Linked DNA regions of Homo sapiens: all the other regions are linked to region 1. Evidence: promoter capture Hi-C in 16 types of primary human blood cells and fetal thymus (Javierre and others, 2016). All regions are on one chromosome and are shown on one strand. The core of a region is centred on a gene start or on the middle of the fragment in contact, and the rest is flanking DNA. Distances in the headings are between cores, read along the strand shown.

What was found. The method cuts DNA at HindIII sites, captures the fragments that hold promoters and counts their contacts. A CHiCAGO score of 5 or more calls a contact.
Region 2: a contact is called between a fragment that was not itself captured here and the fragment with the promoter of TIMM17B in region 1, in 1 of 17 cell types (non-activated CD4 T cells). The highest score is 5.8, in non-activated CD4 T cells.
Region 3: a contact is called between the fragment with the promoter of WDR45 here and the fragment with the promoter of TIMM17B in region 1, in 11 of 17 cell types (neutrophils, fetal thymus, non-activated CD4 T cells and 8 more). The highest score is 14.5, in neutrophils.
Region 4: a fragment that was not itself captured here is called in contact with the fragment with the promoter of TIMM17B in region 1 in 1 of 17 cell types (megakaryocytes); the score reaches 5.2 in megakaryocytes.
Region 5: a fragment that was not itself captured here is called in contact with the fragment with the promoter of TIMM17B in region 1 in 4 of 17 cell types (naive B cells, naive CD4 T cells, total CD8 T cells and 1 more); the score reaches 6.6 in naive B cells.
Region 6: a fragment that was not itself captured here is called in contact with the fragment with the promoter of TIMM17B in region 1 in 11 of 17 cell types (naive CD4 T cells, activated CD4 T cells, non-activated CD4 T cells and 8 more); the score reaches 14.7 in naive CD4 T cells.

What each region holds. Positions count from the first base shown.
Region 1 is chrX:48,896,066-48,899,932 of GRCh38, forward strand. TIMM17B (translocase of inner mitochondrial membrane 17B) reads right to left here and starts at 1,703. Exons shown (of 6, transcript NM_001395498.1): 1 at 1,659-1,703; 2 at 694-793. The coding sequence starts at 1,684. PQBP1 (polyglutamine binding protein 1) reads left to right here and starts at 1,865. Exons shown (of 7, transcript NM_001032382.2): 1 at 1,865-2,017; 2 at 2,427-2,511. The coding sequence starts at 2,445. RefSeq lists enhancers at 1,219-1,368, 1,399-1,598, 1,889-2,258, 2,309-2,528. The HindIII fragment of the contact is 9,862 bases long and covers 1-3,867 here.
Region 2 is chrX:49,026,119-49,030,095 of GRCh38, forward strand. TFE3 (transcription factor binding to IGHM enhancer 3) reads right to left here. Exons shown (of 10, transcript NM_006521.6): 10 at 2,608-3,977. Among named protein-coding and RNA genes, the nearest start is that of TFE3, 15 kb to the right of the region's middle. The HindIII fragment of the contact is 721 bases long and covers 2,199-2,919 here.
Region 3 is chrX:49,078,447-49,082,204 of GRCh38, forward strand. WDR45 (WD repeat domain 45) reads right to left here and starts at 1,441. Exons shown (of 11, transcript NM_001029896.2): 1 at 1,305-1,441. It also overlaps the pseudogene RNU4-52P. RefSeq lists enhancers at 1,392-1,892, 1,604-1,898 and silencers at 1,604-1,898, 2,141-2,210. The HindIII fragment of the contact is 3,362 bases long and covers 1-2,398 here.
Region 4 is chrX:48,757,176-48,761,178 of GRCh38, forward strand. No RefSeq gene overlaps it. Among named protein-coding and RNA genes, the nearest start is that of GLOD5, 2.6 kb to the right of the region's middle. The HindIII fragment of the contact is 5,282 bases long and covers 1-4,003 here.
Region 5 is chrX:48,700,312-48,704,618 of GRCh38, forward strand. It overlaps SUV39H1 (SUV39H1 histone lysine methyltransferase), which reads left to right. Exons shown (of 6, transcript NM_003173.4): 3 at 1-442. Among named protein-coding and RNA genes, the nearest start is that of SUV39H1, 5.7 kb to the left of the region's middle. The HindIII fragment of the contact is 3,918 bases long and covers 1-3,868 here.
Region 6 is chrX:48,652,671-48,656,954 of GRCh38, forward strand. The region is part of intron 1 of LOC124905186 (a long non-coding RNA gene); the gene reads left to right. Among named protein-coding and RNA genes, the nearest start is that of WAS, 29 kb to the right of the region's middle. The HindIII fragment of the contact is 2,419 bases long and covers 1,780-4,198 here.

The DNA of each region.
Region 1 (3,867 bases), core at 453-2,952:
CACTTGAGCCTGGGAGGCGGAGGCTGTAGTGACCCATGATCAGGCCACTGCACGCCAGCCTGGGCAACAGGGCAAGATGCTGTCTCAAAAAAAAAAAAAAAAAAAAAAACATGGCCAGGCACAGTGGCACACGCCTGTAATCCCAGCACTTTGGGAGGCCGAGGTAGGTGGATCACCTGAGGTCCAGAGTTCAAGGCCAGCCTGGCCAACATAGTGAAACCCCATTTCTACTAAAATTACAAAAATTCGTCAGGTCTGGTGGCACATGCCTGTAGTCCCAGCTACTTGGGAGGCTGAGACAGGAGAATTGCCTGAACCCAGGAGGCAGAGGTTGCAGTGAGCCAAGAGCGTGCCACTGCACTCTAGCCTGGGCAACAGAGCAAGACTGTCTCAAAAAAAAAAAAAACTGTCTGGCTTTGCACATACATTTAAAATTTGGTGATGACTCTTTGAACGACACAGCATTTCCACAGAGGAGCTCCAGTTGGGTGGGGTGGAGGGTGGAAGACAGAGGCCATGTTTGCAATCCCTACAAAATCCCAGATACAGGAGCCAGGCTCGGCACATAGTAGGTGAGTGGGCACCAGAATGAATAAGTGCACGTGACTGGCAGCTCCAAGCAGTTTTCAGAGCAGCCTCCCTTGTGGGCAAGATAGCTAACCCCACACCAACCCAGGGAAGGCCTGGACTCACAACAGGGGCATTGCGGAAACCCTTGATGGCCTGGAAGACTCCGCCACCGATGACACCCATAGTGAAGGCTCCACCGCAATCATCCACAATTCGCCATGGGCTGCAAGCAGGAAGGGAAGGACGGGGTTAATGTGAGCCCTCCCCCAGGTCCTGTCACACGAACTCTTTTCTAACTGGGAGAAACCAAGTCACCAGAATGGGAAGTTCCTAAGTAGGAACAAACACTTCAGATAATAATGAGCTAGTTCTGTCACGCTTTTTCCACACACCCCCCCATTAAAGCGAGAAATGGGGCAAAGGGGGAGAAATATTAGTCTTCGCCCTGTCTACCAACCAAGGAATCAGCCAACGGTTTTACTGTGATCAAAGATTAAATGAATTGGCACACGCAGAGTTGACGTTTCAATAAGCGACATAGGCGTGTTAACTAGCCAAGACAGACTGTCAGCAAAGCAGGACCGCGTCGCACCCCTTCTCCGACGGTGAGCCCGTCCAACCATGCCCCGCCCCTTTTCAATCCGGCACAACTGGGAAAAACCAAGAGCGACCGCGGGAAGCATCCACCGTCCCCGCCGGCCCTCAACAGGTTCATCCGTGCCCCGCCCCCCACTGACAAAGGCGACCTGGGAAAAACCACTGGCGGCAACTCTGGGGATTTCCGGTCAACACCGTACCACCCCTAGCCGGGATGGATCGTCCAGCGTGTCTTTTTTCGTTAACAGGGCTAGGAGATTACGAAGTCAGGAGAAACATGGCGTGGTTCGGCCTTCGCCGCACCTTCTCTGGTTGTGGCCCCTCATAACGGAGCCCGAATGACAGGAACCGAGTGGGGGTAGCGGGAGATACGTTAAGAGTCCCCCGAGTCTGGTACATGGCTCTGTGCGGCCGATGCCTCCCCCGCCCGACCCCCACGGCTGGCCTTGGCGTCGCAGCAATATTCCGGATGCCTGTGCCCATTGCCGTACCAGGGCTCCCGAGCGTACTCCTCCATGGCGCTGGCGTCTGGCCGCGCAGTCAGGCCACGCCCCCAGCGTAGACGCACACCGGCGTCGGAGCTTTCCGCCTATTACCGGGCAGCGATTGGGTCGCTATACCGCATGTCACGCCAAGGACGCACTCTCATTGGCCAATCGAGTTTCTGCCATTTGTTCATTGCCTCCTGAGCGTAGTCCAGTTACTTTCAGGCTCGGGGAGTGAAGGCCTCGTTGAGAGAAGGTCTCATTCGGTGTTTTGGGAAGAGAGTCGTGTGGGCCCAGGTATCGTAGCGGCGACACGAGAGAGACGGGCGGTGTGACAGCCTTCCACTACCTGCACGAGTGTATTGGTAACGTTGGGGTGGGTGCACTCTTTTGGAGCTGGAGGAAGTGCTGCCCTCTGCTCCCCCATCCCAGCGCTTTGGTTTCTCCCACCCGGCAGTCATGGGGACGCTGGATGAGCCCATTTCTGAAGTGCGGAGGGGCCGGGCTTCTTAGGCTGTGGGCGGAGCCTGGGCCTGGGAGAGGAACAGGGCCCTGGAGCACCTGGTTTCGGGGACAGTAGGGTTGGTGGGAGTTGCGATGATATTGCCACCTACCTCTTACATCTTTTAGTGCGTATGTTCTGTCCACCCAGCTACTGGTTCATTTGAGTAGATCGGAGTCAGATGAGTACATGTTTACGGGAGGCGCTTGGTTACGGGATCCAGATAGGAATCTTTATCTGAGCTGCTTGTCAGTTTGTTCGTCTGTCCCTAGGTCTGTCTGCTATCAGCTATGCCGCTGCCCGTTGCGCTGCAGACCCGCTTGGCCAAGAGAGGCATCCTCAAACATCTGGAGCCTGGTGAGACAGCTAAAAGCAGATGGTCCTAACACGTGCCAGCCTCGACAGGCACTTTTGTTGTTGATACTGACGCTTGATACCTAGCATGGGCCAACTGTGCACCAAGCAATGGGGTGGCAGGCATTTTTCGTTGTTAACAATGTGGATTCCTGACATCCATCCCTACCGCGTGTCAAGTGGAGGGGGTTGGGGGAATAGATATTTCATTCTTTTTTTTTTTTTTTTTTTTTTTTTTTTTTTTTTTTTTTGAGGCAGAGTCTTATTGTGCACCCAGGCTGGAGTGCAGTGGCGCGATCTCGGCTCACTAAAACCTCCGCCTTCCAGGTTCAAGCGATTCTCCTGCCTTAACTTCCCGAGTAGTTGGGACTACAGGCACGCCCCGCCCCACCACACCTGGCAATTTTTTTTTTTTTTTTTTTGAGACAGAGTCTCGGTCTGTCGCCCAGGCTGGAGTGCTGTGGCGTGATCTCGTCTCACTGCAACCTCCGCCTCCCGGGCTCAAGCGATTTTCCTGTCTCAGCCTCCCAAGTAGCTGGGATTACAGGCACGTGATACCACACCCGGCTGATTTTTGCATTTTTAGTAGAGACGGGTTTCACCATGTTGGCTAGGCTGGCCTCTAACTCCTGACCTCAGGTGATCCACCCCCCACCCTTGGCTTTCCAAAGGGTTGGGATTACAGGCATAAGCCACTGTGCCCGGCAGATATTTCATTCTTAACAATACTGACTGGCTGGGCGTGGCGGCTCAAGCTGGCATTCCCAGCACTTTAGGAGGCTGAGGCGGGTAGATTGCTTGAGTTTAGGGATTAAGAGATTAGCCTGAGCAACATGGCAAAACCCCGTCTTTACAAAAAATACAAAAATTAATCGTGTGTTGTGGTGCATGCCTGTAGTCCCAGCTACTTGGGAGGCTGAGGTGAGAGGATCTCTTGAGCCTAGGATGTCAAGGGTGCAGTGAGCCGAGATTGTGCCACTGCACTCCAGCCTGGCCGACACATGGAGACCCTGTCTGAAAAAAATCCAAAAAAAACAACAAAATAATACTGACCACCTAATGCCTATTTGGGGCCTACTGTATGCCAAGTTAAATCCCATGGATTACTCTATGGGGGTGATGACATAGTATCTAATAGGAAGTACTGCTAACCTCTACTGCTGTCTCCTGTGTGCCAAGCGTAGTTGCAGTGAGGATCTATCATTTAGGCCTACTGTGCTCTGGCTGCAAATCACACCTTATTATCAGTAATACTAAAAACTGGCATCTATTTGGGGCTATAGTGTGCCAGGCACTGGAAAATATATCTTCTCCTTATTGATAACTGACATCTATTACAAGCCTACTGTGTGCAAGGTA
Region 2 (3,977 bases), core at 1,309-3,808, 130 kb after region 1:
ACTCGGGAGGCTGAGGCAGGAGAATCGCTTGAACCTGGGAGTTGGAAGTTGTGGTGAGCCAAGATCATGCCACTGCACTCCAGTCTGGGTGACAGTGAGACCCTGTACCCCCTTCCCCCCCCAAAAAAAAACCTCTGGGCATTACATGTTACGTTTAAAAAATAAAGAAGAGGCCAGGCACGGTGGCTCATGCCTGTAATCCCAACAATTTGGGAGGCCGAGGCGGGCGAATCATCTGAGGTCACGAATGCGAGACCAGCCTGACCAACATGGTGAAACCTTGGTCTCTGCTAAAAGTACAAAAGATTGGGCCAGGGGCCGTGGCTCATGTCTGTAATCCCAGCAATTTGGGAGGCCAAGGCAGGCGGATCATTTGAAGTCAGGAGTTCAAGACCAGCCTGGCCAACATGGTGAAACCCCATCTCTACTAAAAATACAAAAATTAGCTGAGCAGTAGTGGCACATGTCTGTAATCCCAGCTACTCGCAAGGCTGAGGCAGGAGAATCACTTGAACCTGGGAGGCAGAGGTTGCAGTGAGCCGAGATCGCACCATTGCACTCCAGCCTGGACGACAGAGCGAGACTCTGTCTTTAAAAAAAAAAAAAAAAGGCCGGGCACAGTAGCTCACCCCTGTAATTCCAGCACTCTGGGAGGCCGAAGTGGGCGATCACGAGGTCAGGAGTTTGAGACCAGCCTGACCAACATGGTGAAATCCTGTCTCTAATAAAAATACAAAAATTAGCCAGGCGCGGTGACAGGTGCCTGTAATCCCAGCTACTCGGGAGGCTGAGGCAGGAGAATTGCTTGAGCCTGGGAGGTGGAGGTTGCAGTGAGCCGAGACCGTGCCACTGCACTCCAGCTTGGGCAAAAGAGCGAGACTCCATATAAAAAAAAAGAAAAGTACCTAAAATTTGCCAGGTGTGGTGGCACATGCCTGTAATCCCAGGTACTCAGGAGGCTGAGGCAGGAGAATCGCTTGAACCCGGGAGGCGGAGGTTGCAGTGAGCTGAGATCGCGCCATTGCACCCCAGCCTGGGTGACAGAGGGAAACCCTGTTTCAAAATAAATAAATAAATAAATAAAATAAAATAAAATAAAATAAAATAAGAGAGTATAGGGCCAGGTATGGTGGTTTATGCCTGTAATCCCACTTTGGGAGGCCACGGCAGGTATATCACTTGAGGCCAGGAGTTTGAGACTAGCCTGGGCAACATGGTGAGACCCTGTCTCTACTAAAAATACAAAAATTAGCTGGGCGTGGTTGCGCGTCTGTAATCCCAGGTACTTGGGAGGCTGAGGCACGTGAATCGCTTGAACCTGGGAGGCAGAGGTTGCAGTTAGCAGAGATCATGCCACTGCACTCCAGTCTGGGCAATAGAGTGAGACTCCGTTTCAAAAAAAAAAAAAAAAAAAAAAGAGAGAGAGTACAGCAAAGTTGAGGAGAAAAAATAAAGGTTATTAGGGAGCCATCAGTCTGGTTACAGAGATTCAGCAACCAGGCTTGGAGGGGTAGCAGTGTGATAGGTTAGAAAGAGCTAGCAAGGGTCGGGTGTGGTGGCTTACACCTCTAATCCCAGCACTTTGGGAGGCCGAGGCAGGCAGATCACTTGAGGTCAGGAGTTCGAAACCAGCCTGGCCATCATGGTGAAACCCCGTCTCTACTAAAAACACAAAAAATTAGCTGGGTGTGGTGGCAGATGCCTGTAATCGCAACTAGAGAGGTTGAGACAAGATAATTACCTGAACCTGGGAGGCAGAGGTTGCAGTGAGCCGAGATCATGCCACTGCACTCCAGCCTGGGTGACAGGGCGAGATTGTCTCAAAAAAAAAAAAAAGAGATAACAAGTATGGTGGTCACAGTCTAGGGTAGTCACGGTGACCAAGCCCAGTTCCAGCCCTCAGAGGTCACAGTCTGGTGGGGGAAATGGAGGGACCAGGCCTGATGCTTGTTCTAGGAGTCAGTGTCTGGTTGAGAAATTGCGGGAAAATACTTTTTCCCAGCCTTCAAGAAGATACTTGTGTTCATTTAAATTCTCCCAAAATCTCAACATCTGTTCCAAAATTCAGTTGGTTGCTTGTTCCTCTGCCTTTCAGATATTTGTCTTTGTCCTTTCCACCATCTTAAATACCTCTGTTGTCTGCCAGGAAATATCCTCATAGACTTCTTTATCAGTTTCAAAAGTGGATTTGCAAGAAAAGCTTCTTTCCCCCTCTGCCCTCAGTGGCATTTTTCAATCGAGCCCTCACTCACCTGACTTTACTGTTTTACCGCCTCACCCATTTACAGGCTTGCATATCTTCAGAACAGTTCAATTCTATTCCTCAGCTTCTTCAAAGACCAAATGGAAGTAAGAAGCAGCATGTTCTGACTAACATCCCTTTAGAGAAATAAATTAGATGAAACACTTGCAGCAGTTAAAATTGTGCCTGGTGATTGGTCTTTAAAAATACTGTCTTTTGTTTGCATATTGTCTTCCTCCATGCCCTCTTCCTTTCTAAATTCTTTTATCCATCCTTCTGGAATCTGTTTCTCCCAAGGACTTTTATCCCTCTTGGCCTGCATGGGCTATGTTCACTGCACAGTGTAAAACAAGGACAGGAGACTCTTTGCCAAAGTTAAAAGCGCATCAAACACGCCTAGCTTTTATTATTTTAATCACAAACCTATAGACCCCTCAGTATACCCTCCATGGGGCCTGGCCCCAGCAATCCAAAGCTGACAACCTTGGGTGTAGGTATGAGGGGTGGGAATGGAGGGGGGAGTGTCTCTTGATAACTCTGAAATGGGGTGATTCCTCCAAATGAAGAACTGGGTGGGGAACAGAGGTTGGGGTGGCCTAGATTCTCAGTATGCGGAGCAATAAAAAAATCAGATAAACAAATGAGGGGGTACAATATGCTTTTACAACCCTCCTCCAAGCTTCTGCCTTGCTGGGGGAAGGCTTCCAGTTTTTCCTGGGCTGGGGAGGTCCCAGGATAGCCCCTTCCTTCATCCTCTTGCCCTACATGTTGAAAAAGAATACTGAGGTACTGGTTCTGGTAACCTGAACTCAGTCCCCCACTAATACCCATCACCTTCCCAAACTGCCCCTCAAGGAAGAAGGCAGGACTCTGCCCAAGGGTGGGGGCCTCTCACTCCAGATATAGGTCTGGAAAATTCATCCATGAAATTTCATAATCTGTCCCCTTCCCCAAGAGCAAGGTTGGCTCAGAGCCCTCCTAGGTTAGGTCAGGTTGGTCCCAGGTTAAGGCAGGGGAGCTTAAGTACCACTCCTCCCTGCAGTGTGGAATGCTTAGATGGGATGTTGCTGAGGGACAAGGGTGGGGCTGTGATCTCCACAAGCACTAGCGGTGGCCTGGTCCTACTGATTCTTTCACACCTGAAATACCTGTGCTGGGCTGTTCCTATAGGGAAGGGGTGGGGCCTGGCTCCTCCATTCCTAGAAGGCCAGGAGAGTTCCCAGGGGAAGGGGCTGGGTCTCATCCTCACTTCTGTTCCTTGCCTGGGCAGAGCAGGGCAGGGTTCATGGGGAAGGGGCAGAGCTTAAACCCCCAGGGCTGGGACCTCCATTACTTGACTCCTCTTCTGTGCCAGGACGGACTAGACTGGTGGTTCCAAGACAAAGGATGGAGCAACATCCTGACATCTCCCTTTCCCAGGAGACCTGGCTAGGACAGTCCCTAGGGGACAGGGTCGAGACCTCATCCTGTCTCCTTCCCTCACCTGGGCAAGGATGAGTCCCACAGGGGCAGGGGTGAGGCTGTGATCCCCAGGGGGCAGGCCCTGATCTCATGTCCTTCTCCAGCCTTCTCCTTCTGAAATACCTGCACTGGGCGGTTCCTTTGGGGAAGGTGCAGGGCCTCATCTGACTCCTCCTCCTTGCCTGATTACAGGGGTGGGGCCTGATCACATCTCCTCTTCCCCCAGGATACCTGGGCAGGGCAGTCTCATGGGAGGGTGGGGGAAAAGGCGGGG
Region 3 (3,758 bases), core at 191-2,690, 180 kb after region 1:
GAGAGGCTGAGATGGCAGTGAGCCGAAATCGAGCCATTGCATTCCAGCCTGGGTGACAGAGCGAGACTCCGTCTCGGGGGGAAGAAAAAGATAAAAACAGAGAGTCCCAGGGTCTCTGCTCTAAGCTCCCAAGATCCCAAACAACATGGCCAGGAACCCTCCTTCTTTCAGGTTTGGCAAGCTCCAGGCCCACACTGACGTGGACCCCACACCTCCTCTTTACATGCTGGCCCTCACTGACTTGTCAGGAAGTAATGTGATAGGGGGTGCCCCCGTGATATCTCCTCCCCACCGCCAGCCAATCTTGATCCCAATGCCAGACATGGCCTGGAACCACTCCCAACCCATTTCTCATCTTCAAACCTGACCTAGCACCGGACTCTCTCAATAAATAGACAAAAGTGGGCTAGGAGATGCACTTCTTGTACCTCCCTGACTTGGCCCTGGGACTGCTATGCTTGGTCTGCCATCCCCAGGAACTCCTCTGCTCATACCCTTCTAACTGTACCCCAACCTATTTGACCACCCCAGAGTCCTCTCACACCTTTCCCCCTCAACCGGCTTCCCCAAACTCCTTCAGGATGCCTACCTTGGGATGACCCCTTCTCATGCCTTGGTAACTACCCTTCAGGGCCAGCCTAGACATTCCCTTAGATTGGCTTATGCCCTGGGGACTCTACCCTAGGATTCCCCCTAGCACTCTAAATTTTCCACCCCTGGGACATCTCCTTCCTTGTGTTCTGCTGTCCTTGACTACAACATAACCTGGCCTGGACCCAACCCCAGGAACCCCCCCCATCCTCCTAAGATTCCCCCTCTAGACCCCTATCCAAGACCCCGCCCCAGGGCACCCTTGCCTTCTAAGACCCTTGCCCAAAACAAACCACCCAAAACTCCTACCTAGGAGAACCTCAACCCCTAAGATGCCTGCGCAGTCCCCTACTAAGATTACTGCCATAGAGCCCCCAACTTCCCTTCAAATCCTCAACTCCCCAATAACTCTGGCCAGACATACTCCCTCCCCCATCCTCCAAGAGTCCAAATCTCCTTCCTTTCTTTCAGTTACACCCTCCACTGGAATGCCTCATGCTCTTTCTTTGGACAGCTCTGCCTTAGAGTTATTCTCTGGACAGCTCCAACTTTCAACACCCCTTTTTTGCACCTCCATTCCAAGACTCTGTCCGGGATGCCTCGCCCCTCTCCCAAGACCAGCCGCATGCTCCTTCCAACGCCAGCACCCACTCAAGACCTCTGCCTTAGACCCCTACTCGAAAGACTTCCAGCCTCCCCCAGACCCAACCAACCCTGGGATCGTGCTCCAGCTTCCTGCCGCCTTCACCGGCCTGACCTCCGCGTGTCCCTGACCCGGGCCCCAGCTGTCGGTGCCGCCCGCGGCCCGGTTTTCTGACCTCCCGGGCCTTGGAGCCCGGCTCGGGTGTTTACATCAGGCCCTACTTCCGGGGGAGGGAGCCTGTCGCAGGAAATGACTCACCCCAGCTGGAAAAAGGCGGCCACCGCCTTCCTCGCCTAGTTCCCGGGTCTTCGGAGCATCGCGAGTGACAGTGGGGTTCTCCGGGGAGGGCGCGGGGAGCGGAGGAAGGTTGGCTGGGGGACCGGAGGCGAAGGGGGTTCCTCAAGGCCGAGACTGTCTGAGGGAACCCGGAAGGGTGGGGAGAGAGAGCGTGCCTTGCCCCCAGCAAAGCGAAACCGGCCAAGCCCTCAGCCCCTTGGTCACCCACAATGGGGGAGTAAACCTTCCCTGCTAACAAGACGCGGACCTCCGCGGCGGCCGAGAGTAGCCGCCCCGGTTCGCAACACACAGTCCTCCCAGGCTTCCAGAGGGGCGGCGCTGGGGGTTACAGGCGGGGGCGGACCTGGAGACCTTGAAAGTGGAGAAACCTCCTTGGCTCCGGGAAGCCAAGGAACAGATTTCGCTTTCTTTCTCCCCACCCTGTCCCCCCAACCCCGCCAGCTCTGAGTTTTGTCTTTTGTGTTTTGTTTAGTTTTGTTTTCTGAGACAGAGTCTCGCTCTGTCTCCCAGGCTGGAGTGCAGTGGCGCGATCTCGGCTCACTGCAACCTCCGCCTCCCGGGTTCAAACGGTTATCCTGCCTCAGCCTCCGGAGTAGCTGGGACTGCAGGCGTGCGCCACCACGCCCATCTAATTTTTGTATTTTTAGTAGAGACGGGGTTTCACCATGTTGGTCAGGCTGGTCTCGAACTCTTGACCTCAGGTTATCCACCCACCTCGGCCTCCCAAAGTGCTGGGATTACAGGCTTAAGCTACCACGCCCGGCCTCTGCTTTTATTTTTACAAAATACAAAATAGCTTTTTGATAGTAAAAGGTATGAATGCTTTGGGTTAAAAAAAAAAAAAAAAAGAGGTCCTACCTATGATAAAGCTTTTAAAAAAAGGCCCCAAATTATATGCATACTGGAAGGAATTTTTTTTTTTTTTTTTTTTTTTGATTAACAGAGTTTGGCTCTTTTTGCCCAGGCTGGAGTGCAATTAGCGCGATCTTGGCTCACCACAACCTCCGCCTCCCGGGTTCAAGGGATTCTTCTGCCTCAGCCTCCCCAGCCTCCCAAGTAGCTGGGATTACAGGCATGTGCCACCACGCCCAGCTAATTTTGTATTTTTAGTAGAGACCGGGTTTCTCCCTGTTGATCAGTCTGGTCTTGAACTCCTGACCTCAGGTGATCCGCCTGCCTCGGCCCCCCAAAGTGTTGGGATTACAGGCGTGAGCCACTGCGCCCGGCTGGAAGGATTTTTAATTAAACTTTACATTAAGAAATAATAAATAGGCTGGGCGCGGTGGCTCACGCCTGTAATCCCAGCACTTTGGGAGGCCGAAGCAGGCAGATCATGAGGTCAGGAGTTCGAGATCAGCCTGGCCAGCATGGTGAAACCCCCTCTCTACTAAAAATACAAAAAGTTAGCCAGGCATGGTGGTGCGTGCCTGTAGTCCCAGCTACTCGGGAGGCTGAGGCAGGAGAATCACTTGAAGCCAGGAGGAGGAGGTTGCAGTGAGCAGAGATCGCACCACTGCACTCCAGCCTGGGTAATAGAGTGAGACTCTGTCTCGAAAAAAAAAAAAAAAGCCGGGCGTGGTGACACGCGCCTGTAATCCTAGCTACTGGGGAGGCTGAGGCAGGAGAACCACTTAAACCTAGGAGGCGGAGGTTGCAGCAAGCCCAGATCCTGCCATTGCACTCCAGCCTGGGAGACGAGCGAAATTCCCGTCTCAAAAAAAAAGGGCTGGGCATGGTGGTGCATGCCTGTAATCCCAGCAATTTGGGAGGCCGAGGCAGGTGGATTGCCTGAGCTCAGGGGTTTGAGACCACCCTGGGTAACACGGTGAAACCTCCTCTCTACTAAAATACAAAAAATTAGCCGGGCGTGGTGGCGGGCACCTGTAAGTCCCCTACTTGGGAGGCTGAGGCAGGAGAATCATTGGAACCCAGAAGGCAGAGGTTGCAGTGAGCCAAGATCGCGCCACTGCACTCCAGCCTGGGCAACAGAGGGAAACCCTGTCTCCAAAAAAAAAAAAAAAAAAAGAATATTCTTGAAAAAAAAGAAATATGCTTTTTGCAGTGGCAGTATCATAGCCAATGAGGTTTAGCCAAGGTGTGGATATTGCTAATTGGAAACTTCCCAATACCCCGCCCCGAAGACTTGCAATATAGTCGGCATTGGCAATTTTTGACAGTCTATGAAGACTGAATATTAAAGAAAAAATACAGAGAAATCTCATACTTT
Region 4 (4,003 bases), core at 552-3,051, 140 kb before region 1:
GCACAATGCCTGGCACACCTATTTGGATTTTGGAAGCAACACATTCCTCATTTGGGTATGTTACACATGCCCGTTTACCAAATGACCTGAAAAGCTGCAAGTTTTGTGTGGGGCCCAGAACAGGAGAAGGCTCTGCAACATGTCCAGGCTGCTGTGCAAGCTACTTTGCCACTTGGGCCATAGGACCCAGGAGATCCAGTGGTGCTTGAAGTGACAGTGGCAGATAGGGATACTGTTTGGAGCTCTTGGCAGGCCGCTATAAGTTAGTCATAGCCTAGCCCTCTAGGATTTTGTTTTATTTTATTTTTTGAGACAGGGTCTTGCTCTGTCACCCAGGCTGGAGTGCAGTGGCACAACACAGCTCACTGCAGCCTTGACCTTTCAGGCTCAGGTGATCCTCCCACTTCAGCCTCCCTAGTAGCTGGGACTGACTGCAGGTGTGCACCACCACATCTGGCTAACTTTTGTATTTTTTGTAGAGATAGGGTTTCCCAATGTTCCCGAGGCTGGTCTCGAACTCTTGGGCTCAGGCAATCCACACGTCTCAGCCCCCCAAATGAAATTTGGTGAGCCTCCTTTAGGATTTTGGAGCAAAGCCCTGCTATTCTCTGCAGATAACTACCCTCCTTTTGAGAAACAGCTCTTGGCTGGGTGTGGTGGATCACTCCTTTAATCCCAGCACTTTGGGAGGTTGAGGCCAACACATCTCTCTCTTGAGCACAGGAGTTCGAGACCACCCTGGGCAACATGGCAAAAATCCATCTCTACAAAAAAATACAAAAATTATTAATAGCTGGGTGGGGTGGTGCATGCCTGTAGTCCCACCTACTCAGGAAGCTGAGGTGGGAAGATCGCTTGAGCCCAGGAGGTCGAGGCTGTAGTGAGCTGTAATTGTGCCACTGCAGTGCAGCCTGGGTGACAAAGTGAGACCCTGTCTCAAAAAAAAAAAAAAAAAAGAGAGAGAGAGAGAAACAGCTCTTGGTCTGCTACTGGGTCTTAGTAGAAACTAAATACTTGACCATGGGCCACCAAGTTACATCATTCCTGCCCATCATGAACTGGGTGTTACCTGACTAACCAAGAGTCGGTGTGCCCAGCAGTGCTCCATCGTCGAATGGAAATGGGAAATATGTGATGGGGCCTAAGCAGGCCCTGAAGACACAAGTAAGTTACATGAGGAAGAGGCCTAAATGCCCATGGTCCCCACTCCTTCTACCTTGCCTCCTTTCTCCCAGCCTGCAACTGTGGCCTCATGGGGAGTTCCCTACAATTAGTTGACAGAGGAAGAGAAGACTTGGGCCTGGTTTACAGATGATTCTGCATGTTATGCAGGCACACTCTGAAAGTGGACAGCTGAAGCACTATGGCCCCTTTCTGAGACACCTCTGAAGGACAGTGGAAAAGGACAGTTAATAAGGGGTGGACTTGTGATGGTAAATTTTGTGTCAACTTGATAGGGACCCAGGGTGCCCTGTTGAATATTATTTCTGGGTGGATCTGTGAGGGTGTTTCCAGATGAGGTTAGCATATGAATTGTTGGACTGAGTAAGGCAGATGGCTCTGCCCATTGTAAATGGGCATCACCCAATCCACTGAAGGTTGGAATAGAACAAAAAAGACGGAGGAAGGTGGAATTTGCTCTCTGCGTGACTGCTTGAGGTAGAACACCAGTCCTTTGCCCTTGGCTGGTACTTACACCATCAGCCCTTTTTTTGTTTTGTTTTGTTTTGTTTTTTAGAGACAGAGTCTTGCTCTGTCACCCAGGCTGAAGTGCAGTGGCACAATCTCGGCTCACTGCAACCTCCACCTCCCAGGTTCAAGCGATTCTCCTGCCTCAGCCTCCTGAGTAGCTGAGATTACAGGTGTGCGCCACCACGCCCAGATAATTTTTGTATTTTTAGTAGGGATGGGGTTTTGCCATGTTAGCCAGGCTGGTCTTGAATTCCTGACCTCAAGTGATCCAACCACCTTGGCCTCCCAAAACGCTGGGATTACAGGCGTGAGACACCATGCCCAGCCAACACCATCAGCCCTTTGGTTCTCAGAACAACACCACTGGCTCTCCTGGGTCTCCAGCTTGCTGATGGCATATTGTGGAACTTCTCAGCTTCCAAAATCACAGGAGCCAATCCTTGTAATATATTACATATTGGTTCTGTTTCTCCTACTGGTTCTGTTTCTCTGGAGAACTCTAATACACCCAGCAATTCCACTTCTAATTCTAGTACTCAGACATGTGCACAGAGCTGTGGGAACAAGGCTGGTAGGAACAAACAACCAGGAAAATCTTGTAAATGTTCACTGATACCCAAGGACTATTGCAGAGTGAAACGAATAATGAGGGTTCATGTTACAGCACAGAGTGCCCACTGGACGTGACACAGAATGGATGGGACTTGTGTGTACCTGCAAGGGTGGGGGTTATCTTCTACAGGATGTGCTATAGGCAGGGAAAAGCAAGGGGGAGTCAGTTACAGTGACCTAGTGCATGTGTGTAGTGTGCGCACACACACACTATGGAAACACAGGGAACTGTATCTGGAAGGAAACACCAGAATCTGACCCCAGTGGTCATTCTGGGGGAATGGGGATAGAGATGATTGCTAGAGTCCATGTACTGATGTGTTGTTCAAATCTTTTTTTTTTTTTTTTTTTTCGAGAGAAAGAGTCTCCTTCTGTCATCCAGGCTGGAGTACAGTGGCACGATCTCAGCCCACTGCAACCTCTGCCACCAATTCAAGTGATTCTTGTGCCTCAGCCTCCCGAGTAGCTGGGATTACAGCTGCGTGCCACCATGCCCGGCTAATTTTTGTATTTTTAGTAGAGATGGGGGTTTCACCATATTGGCCAGGCTGGTCTTGAACTCCTGATCTCAATTGATCCACCCGCCTTAGCCTCCCAAAGTGCTGGAATTACAGGTGTGAGCCACCACCCTCAGCCTGTTTTTCAAATCTTTTATACAAACCTGTATTCACATATTATTTGTGTAACTCTTTTTAAAGGAAAATCATATGCTTAAAAACAATATCTGGCCGGGCACGGTGGCTCACGCCTGTAATCCCAACACTTCAGGAGGCCAAAGCAGGCCAATTGTAGGCAACATAGCAAGACCTCATCCCTACTAAAAATACAAAAATTAGCCAGGCGTGGTGACACACACCTGTAGTCCCAGCTACCCAGGAGGCTGAGGCAGGAGGATCCCTTGAGCCCAGGAGTTTGAGGCTGCACTGAGCCATCATGGCGCCAGTGGGCTCCAGCATGGGTGACAAAGTGAGACACTGTCTCAAAAAAAAACAAAAACAAAACAATATCCACAACACAAAGTGTTTGTGTTGGGGGTAACTAGAAACAAAAATCTCAAACTCACATGCTCCAGGGGCCAGACAAGTAACCTGTAAGGGAGATGGGGGAGTTCTGCTCAGGGTAAAGTGAACAGCAACTGGGCTGATGAATGTTCTCTGACTCTCAGCAGCGGAAGGTGAGGGTGAGTGAAGGGTGAGTGGGGAGGAGGAGGAAGACTGCAAATCTCATCCCCCAAAACTCATCCCCCAAAATAATTCAGGAACATCACACCCTGGGGCTCAGAACTTTTTTTTTTTTAAACAGAGTCTCACTCTGTCACCCAGGCTGGAGTGCAATGGCGCGATCTCGGCTCACTGCAACCTCCGCCTCCCGGGTTCAAACTATTCTCCTGCCTCAGGCTCCTGAATAGCTGGGACTACAGGTGCACACCACCATGCCTGGGTAATTTTTGTATTTTTAGTAGAGATGGAGCTTTACCATGTTGGCCAGGCTGGTCTCGAACTCCCAGCCTCAAGTAATCCGTCCACCTTGGCCTCCCAAAGTGCTGGGATTACAGGCGTGAGCCACCGTGCTTGACCAAGGGGCTCAGAACTCTTAAGAGTTCAGGGATCTTGGCTTGGAAACAGACACCTAATGGGTCAGAGCAGTCATACTCTAACTCAGATAGCTCACAACTTCATACCCCTGACACACACTCTCA
Region 5 (4,307 bases), core at 660-3,159, 200 kb before region 1:
TCGCTGGGAGCAGGAGCTCAATGCCAAGCGCAGCCATCTGGGACGCATCACTGTAGAGAATGAGGTGGACCTGGACGGCCCTCCGCGGGCCTTCGTGTACATCAATGAGTACCGTGTTGGTGAGGGCATCACCCTCAACCAGGTGGCTGTGGGCTGCGAGTGCCAGGACTGTCTGTGGGCACCCACTGGAGGCTGCTGCCCGGGGGCGTCACTGCACAAGTTTGCCTACAATGACCAGGGCCAGGTGCGGCTTCGAGCCGGGCTGCCCATCTACGAGTGCAACTCCCGCTGCCGCTGCGGCTATGACTGCCCAAATCGTGTGGTACAGAAGGGTATCCGATATGACCTCTGCATCTTCCGCACGGATGATGGGCGTGGCTGGGGCGTCCGCACCCTGGAGAAGATTCGCAAGAACAGCTTCGTCATGGAGTACGTGGGAGAGGTAGGGAGATGGGACCCGGTGTGTGTGTGCAGCTCTTCCCACCCTGTGTTCACAGTGTGCACCCGGCTCTCCTCACTGTGTGTCTGAAACTCCCTGCTTTCCCTATGGGAAAGGCCTGGGAGACTGATCTGAGTGTCACAGGGACATTGGGCAGGGGCTAGTATTCCAAGCTGGTACACACCAGCATGGCCATGCTGGTGGTTACAGGAACACCAAAATACTTCTGCACTGGGTTGACTTTATCAGGGTACTTAGCAAAGAAGAAAAGTGGGAGCTGAGATCCAGGCAGCCTTAGCATTCCTTGTAACAGGCCATGTGGTCTGGCATAGGGCTGCATCAGCTGGAAAGGCACTTCCTCTTCTCATTTCACAAGGGCCCATCTTATCACCAAGCAGTATCTGCCTGAGGAGCATTGTTTTACCAGTCTGCACAGAAGGAACGCAGTCTGGAGTAGGATGAGACATGCCTTGGACAAAGGTTGGCTAACTCCTTTAGACTTTCAGGACACTGGGGAAGGCCGAGTGTATTAGGCAAGCCAGCCATTGTAAAAACAACCCCCTCATCTTAGTGACTTTGCACATTACAAGTTTGCTTGCTCATGGAACAGTCCATTGTGGGGGTTTGAGTGGGTATCCTTTCACACAGCAACTGGGACACCTAGGCTCTTTCCCTCCTGTGCCTTTGCTGTGCCTTGAAGCCTTGGAGTCACTACCAGATCCTCAGCATTGCCTGGCAGGCGGGCCAAGTGGGGGATAGAAGGGGCCCATCCTAGTGGGCCAGGCCTAGATGCAGCACCCATCACTTCTGCCCATGCTCCACTGGCTGGAACTGAGTCACTGGCCTTACCTCCATGCAAGAGAGGCAACAGGATGTGCTTTAGCCATGTGCCCAGCTGCACAAGGCTAAAGCACAGCCATAACTAGCAACTAGATAACTAGCAAGTATCTACAACAGAAAAATGTCGCATTCTAAGATGGGATGCAGTTAGCATTTGGGATGAGATGATTTTTCGTTATGTAGAACTGTCTCATGCATTGGGGGACATTTAGCATCCCTGGACCTTGACCATTTAAATCCATGAGTGTGCCCTGTCATAGTGACAACCCCAGATACCTCTATATATAGCCATAGGTCCCTTAGGGGTGTGATATAGTTGGAAAGTGACAGAAACTGGCCTGAGGAACACTCACATGAGGGTGTCCACACTGTAGCACTGATACTGATGACAAGGAGAGGCTCCTACTCTGAGAAACTGTACAGAGGGTCACATCTGACAGGGACAGAGACAATCTTGGGTAGAACAATCTACACCACAGAGGACCCTGACAGTCTGGGCAAGGAGACAGCCACACCCTGTCCAGATAACCCTGCTGGCCTGCTGGAGGAGATGTCTACATGCCACAGGACCTGGCCATCTGGAAGGAGGAGGTGGGGAGGTGTCCACACCCTGAGGGCTCCTGACAGTGGGCGGGGGAAGGAGTCCTGATAATCTGCAGGAAGTCCATGTCCCACAGTGACCCCAGTGACCTGGAGGAAGAGCTTGTGCTCTCCACACTCTAGAGGACCTGGTGGTCTGACTTAGGAAGTGTTCACACCCATGTTGTCATGACAGGAAAAAGAAGTGTCCTCACCCCAGAGGGATCCGGACAGCCTGGAGATCTAGTCTACACCCAAGGGCACCCTGACAGTATCGGGGGAAGTGTCCATGCCCTCAATGTCCTGACGCTCTGGAGGAAGTGTCCAGAGGTTGAAGGAACCCAAACTCTCTGGAGGAGATGTCCAGACCCCATAGGACCCAGACAGTCCACCGTCCTAGGGGCTGCACAGAGCAGGAAGTATCTCAGCCTCACTGTACTGGCATCTGGAGGAAACACTGTCTACCACACAGGGTCCTGACAGTCGAGGAGGAAGACTACACCCCAAGGGCAGCCTCAGACCCTCCTGGGCCTGAGACTTTTCTGGCTGCTCTTCCTTAGTGTCAGTGTCTTTAATCCTCCCAGGGATCCTCTCAGCCCTGTCCTCACCCTTCCTGCTCTCCACACATTCTTGCTGCACTATTTCCTGACCGCCCTCCAGCACCCTCAGACCCATGGGTCCTCCTGATGGTGCCACAGGCCTCCGGAAAGAGCCAAACTCATCTTCCCGCATTCCCCTCTGAAGAGACAGTATAGCAAATGGTTAGGAGGGTGGACTCTGGATCCTGACTGCCCGAGGCTGAATCCCAGCTCCACTACTCATCAGCAATCACTAACCTCTGTGCCTGCATTTACTATGTAAAATGGGAACAATAATAGCACTCACCTCACAGGCTTGTTACAAAAATTAAATGAGTTACTATGTATCAAGCACTTGGAAAAAGCACTTGAACAGTGTTCAGTACACAGTAAGTTTGATACAAATGTTATCAGCATAGTTCAAACTTCAGCAAATCCAAAATGTCTGGAAGACCAAGTTTTTTTGTAACCCATCTGGCTACAGGACCCAGCCTGACCGGATAGGGTCCTATTTGTAGTTTTTATTTATCCTACTTGGGGTAATAGTCATACATTTCGTTGCAGCAGTTCTAATTTACTTGATTCTGTAGTGCCGTCCCAGATGCTGCCAGGGTGTTACGGAATCAAGGGCCTATCTGCACACCATGCTATCTACTGTCCTTCTTCAGCTGGGACATGTACTGACAGTCTGTACCAAGAGCTCCCTCCACGGGAGCTGCCCTTCCCTCCTTTGCAGCCTCCCACATTGGGTCAGAACTTTCACGTTCCTGCAGAACATTCCCATCCTCACCCAAGAGACAATGCCAGCCTATTTTATCCATTCTAAAACATGCATTTTCTTCCTATTTTAACATCTCGGAAATGAAGATGTCTTAATTAAATCATGGTGTATCATTTATAATTAACAGCAGTTTTTCCTTTCTTGGTAAAGGGCACATAAAATTAAGGGTGTGCCTTACATTTATAACTGGTCCTCATAACCACTCCTAACATTGCTCACTCTCCTATCAGAAACAGGAACACCTTTCACGTCCATGATCTTGTATGGATCTTTACAACAGCCCCTGTCAGGTTGGGATTTTGTCACTGTCATTCCCATTCTGCAGATGAGAAAACTGAGGCCCAGAGAGGTAGAATAACTTGATTAAAATCACAAAAGTAGTACAATGGATAAAAAAATAAAGGCCCAAATAATATCTAAAACTGGTACCCTGCCAGGCTGTAGCTTTTTTTTTTTTTTTTTAGCTGAGGAAACAGGCACAGAGAGAACATTCAGGATCCCATATCCAGGAGGGGGCAGAGCAGCAGCTGACTCCAAGTCTTCTAGTTCCCATTCACGTCAGCACCCTCTCGGAACTGCCAGCTTACAGCCTGTCTTTTCCATTCATTCTGGAGAGCTGTTAGGGAGCAGAGACAGGCCCATCTGTTCCCAAGCTTTCAGGGTTGACCAATCATTAGAGAATGGGACTGAAAAGAAGATGAGAAGGAACCAAGAAGTGTTTGTGCCCTGGAGGGCCTGCAGTATGACTCACTCCTGGTGAGACTGGGAGAGCAGGTAGTGGCAGAATAGGCATGAAGATGGAGACTAGGAAGGATGTGGGCACTCCTCCTGGCTCAAGGAGGGCCTACGGTGAAAAAGATGGCTCATACCCCACCCACTAGGCCTGTGAGCCTGGGAGAGGCTGCCCTTTGATCCCAGGACTTGATCAGACAAGTGGCCAGCTTCTGAGGTAGGGGAGGAACGGGAAGCTTGGAAGGCTGCCTAGAGAGGTCCCATCTGTTTGAGCTGATGCCACAAGGAAGACTGTTCTCCAGGAGGTGAAGGGAGACTGATCTTGACATATTCCACCCTCATGTTGTGGCCCTTAGGA
Region 6 (4,284 bases), core at 1,739-4,238, 240 kb before region 1:
AGGTTTCCACTTTTGTTATGAAGGTGTTACAGTTATCAGGGCTGGGGATGGATATGCACATTAATCGTGTTTTTTAATTTTCTGTATTTCATGATGCTTTGACATCTTGGGGCCTTGCTAATCTTGGAGAGACTGTCCCTCCCAGGGCTAACTAATTCCTACAGAACTTGACTCTGAGCATGCTTTTGATATGCAAACCAACAATCATGAGACCATACCCAAACCACCTCCTTTTTCTAACTCTCACACACCAGCCAATATTCCCCCTCCAGGGCCAGGTACTGAACAACTAGGGGCCACCCTGTAGCCCACCAAAATCATTCAAACTATCCAGTCCTAAGGTTTCTCAGCTTGCCAATCCTGTCTCATCCATTCCTTCCCATAAAACCTACAATAAAGGCTCTGGGCCCATGCTTTCTCCTCACTCCTGACTCCTGACTGACCCTGGTGCCTCCCATGTGGCCCTTGCATGGCCATGGCTTGGCAAGCCCCCTCCTCTTGAGAACTGTGAGTAACAAACTATCTTTTCAATGGCAGTTGCCTTGTGATCTGCTGGGCTCACCATACCTCAATTTTTAAAGATTCTTGGTTATATTTTAAAACAATCTAACCCCAGGTGCTAACTCTGGTGGCTGCTTAATAGCTGTCCCAAGTGAGGGATGAGAAAAATCTTCAGGTTGAGTCAAAATATCAATGTCTGCCCTGAGCATGGGTTGTGAGGAATAAAGATGTGAGAGAAAGGGTTTGTCCTCCCTGACACAGATGATCTCTAGGGGCCCTTGCAGCTCTAATATCTAAGCATTTTAGAAAGTATTTTAAGGCCAGGCACAGTAGCTCATGCCTATAATCCCAGCACCTTGGGAGGCTGAGGTGGGCAGATCACTTGAGGTCGGGAGTTCGAGACCAGCCTGGGCAACATGGCAAAACCCCCATCTCTACTAAAAATACAAAAATTAGCCAGGCATGGTGCCACATGCCTGTAATCCCAGCTACTCGGGTGGCTGAGGCAGGAGAATCTCTTGAACCCAGGAGGTGGAGGCTGCAGTGAACTGAGATCACACCACTGCACTCCAGCCTGGGCAACAAAGCAAGACTCTGTCTCAAAAAAAAAAAAAAAAGAAAGAAAGGAAGAAGAGGAACAGGAGGGAGGAGGAGGGATCTGAGCTAGCACGCTCAGCCCCTTGCCAAGTGATACCCTGCACTGTCTCAGGACTCTTCAGAGTCCTCACCAGCAAAAAGTCCCCCACCAGATGCAGCCCCTTGACCTTAGACTTCTCAGCCCCCACAACTGTAAGAAAGAAATTCATTTCCTTTAAAATTACCCAGTTTCAGGTATTCTGTTATAAGCAACAGAAACTGGACTAAGACAGGAAAACACAAACATTCAGTCCATTGCCTTCCAACACCTGCCTGCCCCCGACAATTCATGTGCTTCTCACATGCAAACTACATTCAATTCCATCCAAACATCCCCCCAAATCTTAACTCATTCCAGTATGAACTCTAAAGTCTAAAGCCAAAAGTCTCATCTAAAGATCATCTAAATCAGGTATGGGTGAAACTCACCCTGAAGCAAAATTCCTCTTCAGCTGCTTAAAAGAAACCAAAGTATTTGCTTCCAAAATACAATGATGGGACACAAAGAGGGTCTATAAACATTCCCATTCCAAAAGGGAGAAACAGGGAAGGAGGACGGGGTGACAAGTCCCAAGCAAGTCCAAAACCTAGCAAGGGAAGTTCTGTGAGATCTTGAGACTCAGGTAATCCTCTTTGGCTTGAAGCTTTGCCTCCAGACCTACTGGGGTGTCAGTCCCTCATGCCAGACCCACTGAGGGGGCAATGTCACCCTCACAGTGAGAGACAGGACTAGCTGGATTTCCTAGGCTGACTAAGAATCCCTAAGCCTAGGTGGGAAGGTGACCGCAATCCACCTTTAAACACGGGGCTTGCAACTTAGCTCACACCCGACCAATCAGGGAGTAAAGAGAGCTCACTAAAATGCTAATTAGGCAAAAACAGGAGGTAAAGAAATAGCTAATCATCTATCACCTGAGAGCACAGCGGGAGGGACAATGATAGGGATATAAACCCAGGCATTCGAGCCCGCAACGGCTACCCTCTTTGGGTCTCCTCCCTTTGTATGGGAGCTCTGTTTTCACTCTATTAAATCTTGCAGCTGCACTCTCTTCTGGTCCGTGTTTGTTACGGCTCGAGCTGAGCTTTCACTTGCAGTCCACCACTGCTGTTTGCCGCCGTCGCAGACCCGCCATTGACTTCCATCCCTCCAGATCCGGCAGGGTGTCCGCTGTGCTCCTGATCCAGCAAGCCGTCCACTGCTGCTCCCGATCGGGCTAAAGGCTTGCCATTGTTCCTGCATGGCTAAGTGCCTGTGTTTGTCCTAATCGAGCTGAACACTAGTCACTGGGTTCCACGGTTCTCTTCCGTGACCCACGGCTTTTAATAGAGCTATAACACTCACGCATGGCCCAAGACTCCATTCCTTGGAATCCGTGAGGCCAAGAACCCCAGGTCAGAGAACCCGAGGCTTGCCACCATCTTGGAAGCAGCCCACCACCATCTTGGGAGCTCTGGAAGCAAGGACCCCCACCCCCCGGCCCGGTAACAACAGTTTGGCAGCACTCACTGCTCATGCTGTGGTTGTCAGGGCAGGAGTTGTAGCCTCAGGGCTCTGCTGGGAGCCTCCATCCCCACCGCTCTACTGGGCATTGGTCTCACCCTTTGAAATGGAGGTGGAGGCTGGGAGTGGTGGCTCACACCTGTAATCCCAGCACTTTGGGAGGCCAGGACAGGCCAGTCACAAGGTCAGGAGATCGAGACCATCCTGGCTAACAGGGTGAAACCCCGTCTCTACTAAAAATACAAAAAATTAGCTGGGCGTGGTGGTGGGCGCCTGTAGTCCCAGCTACTTGGGAGGCTGAGGTGGGAGAATGGCATGAACCTGGGAGGCGGAGTTTGCAGTGAGCCAAGATTGTGCCACTGCACTCCAGCCTGGATGACAGAGCGAGACTCTGTCTCAAAAAAAAAAAAAAAAAAGAAATGGAGGTGCAGGTAGTCCTATGCCCTAAGCCCATGTACTCTGGGCCTCTGATGGGACTGGTGACCTGGACGGTCTCTGAATCACCTTCAGGGTTCTTCTTCCCTTATCTTGAAGAACAGTGTGTGTTCACAGCCGAATAGTTCTATGGTTTGGTCCTATAGGATCTAAGAAGTTTAATCATCTTCCTTCATTTTGTCCCATTTTCTTTTTTTCTTTTTCTTTTTTTTTTTTGAGACAGAGTCTCCCTCTGTTGCCCAGCACCCAGGCTGGAGTGCAGTGGTGCAATCTCAGCTCACTGCAACCTCCGCCTCCTGGGTTCAAGTGATTCTCCTGCCTCAGCCTCCCAAGTAGCTGGGATTACAGGCGTGCACCACCGCACCCGGCTAATTTTTGTATTTTCAGTAGAGACAGGGTTTCACCATGTTGGTGAGGCTGGTCTTGAACTCCTGATCTCAGGTGATCCACCCGCCTCAGCATCCCAAAGTGTTGGGATTACAGGCATGAGCCACTGTGCCCAGCCATTTTGTCCCATTTTCTCTGTTTCCTTTAGTCCCAGTCAGCAGTGCCATTTCCAGTACAATCCCATCGCTATTGCTGTTTTGTTGAGATGGTTAATGAAGTCCACAGTTCACATTCACAGTAATCTCCTTGTCAAATAGTCCAGCAGATCCTTAGTGTTCTCTTCCAAACATGCTTTGTCATGTTTTGTAATATGGACAGGGACAGGCTGAGAATTTTCCAGACCCACTGAGGGAGCAATGTCACCCTCATAGCTTGGGTAAGTTTAAGTTCTGGTTCCTTTTTGCATAACAATTCTGTTTTCAATTCATATCTCTCTTCTCAAATTTGACTATAAGCAGTCAGGAGGAACCAAGCCTCTCCTTTCAACACTTTGCTTAGAGATCTCCTCAGCTAAATCTCCATTTCACTGTTCACAAGTCCTACCCTCTACAAAACACTAAAACGTAAACACAATTCAGCCAGGTTCTTTGCTACTTTATAACAAGGATCACCTTTTCTCCACTGTCCAATAACACGTTCCTCATTTCTACCTGAGACCACATCAGAACAGCCTTTAACCACCCATATTTCTACCACCAATCTGTTCATGATTACTTATGTATTCTTTAAGAAAGCAGAAGCTTTCTCTACAGCTCTCCTCATTTCTTTCTGACTGCTCATCAGAATCACCTTTAAAGGTCCATTCAATGGCAATATAGGATTTT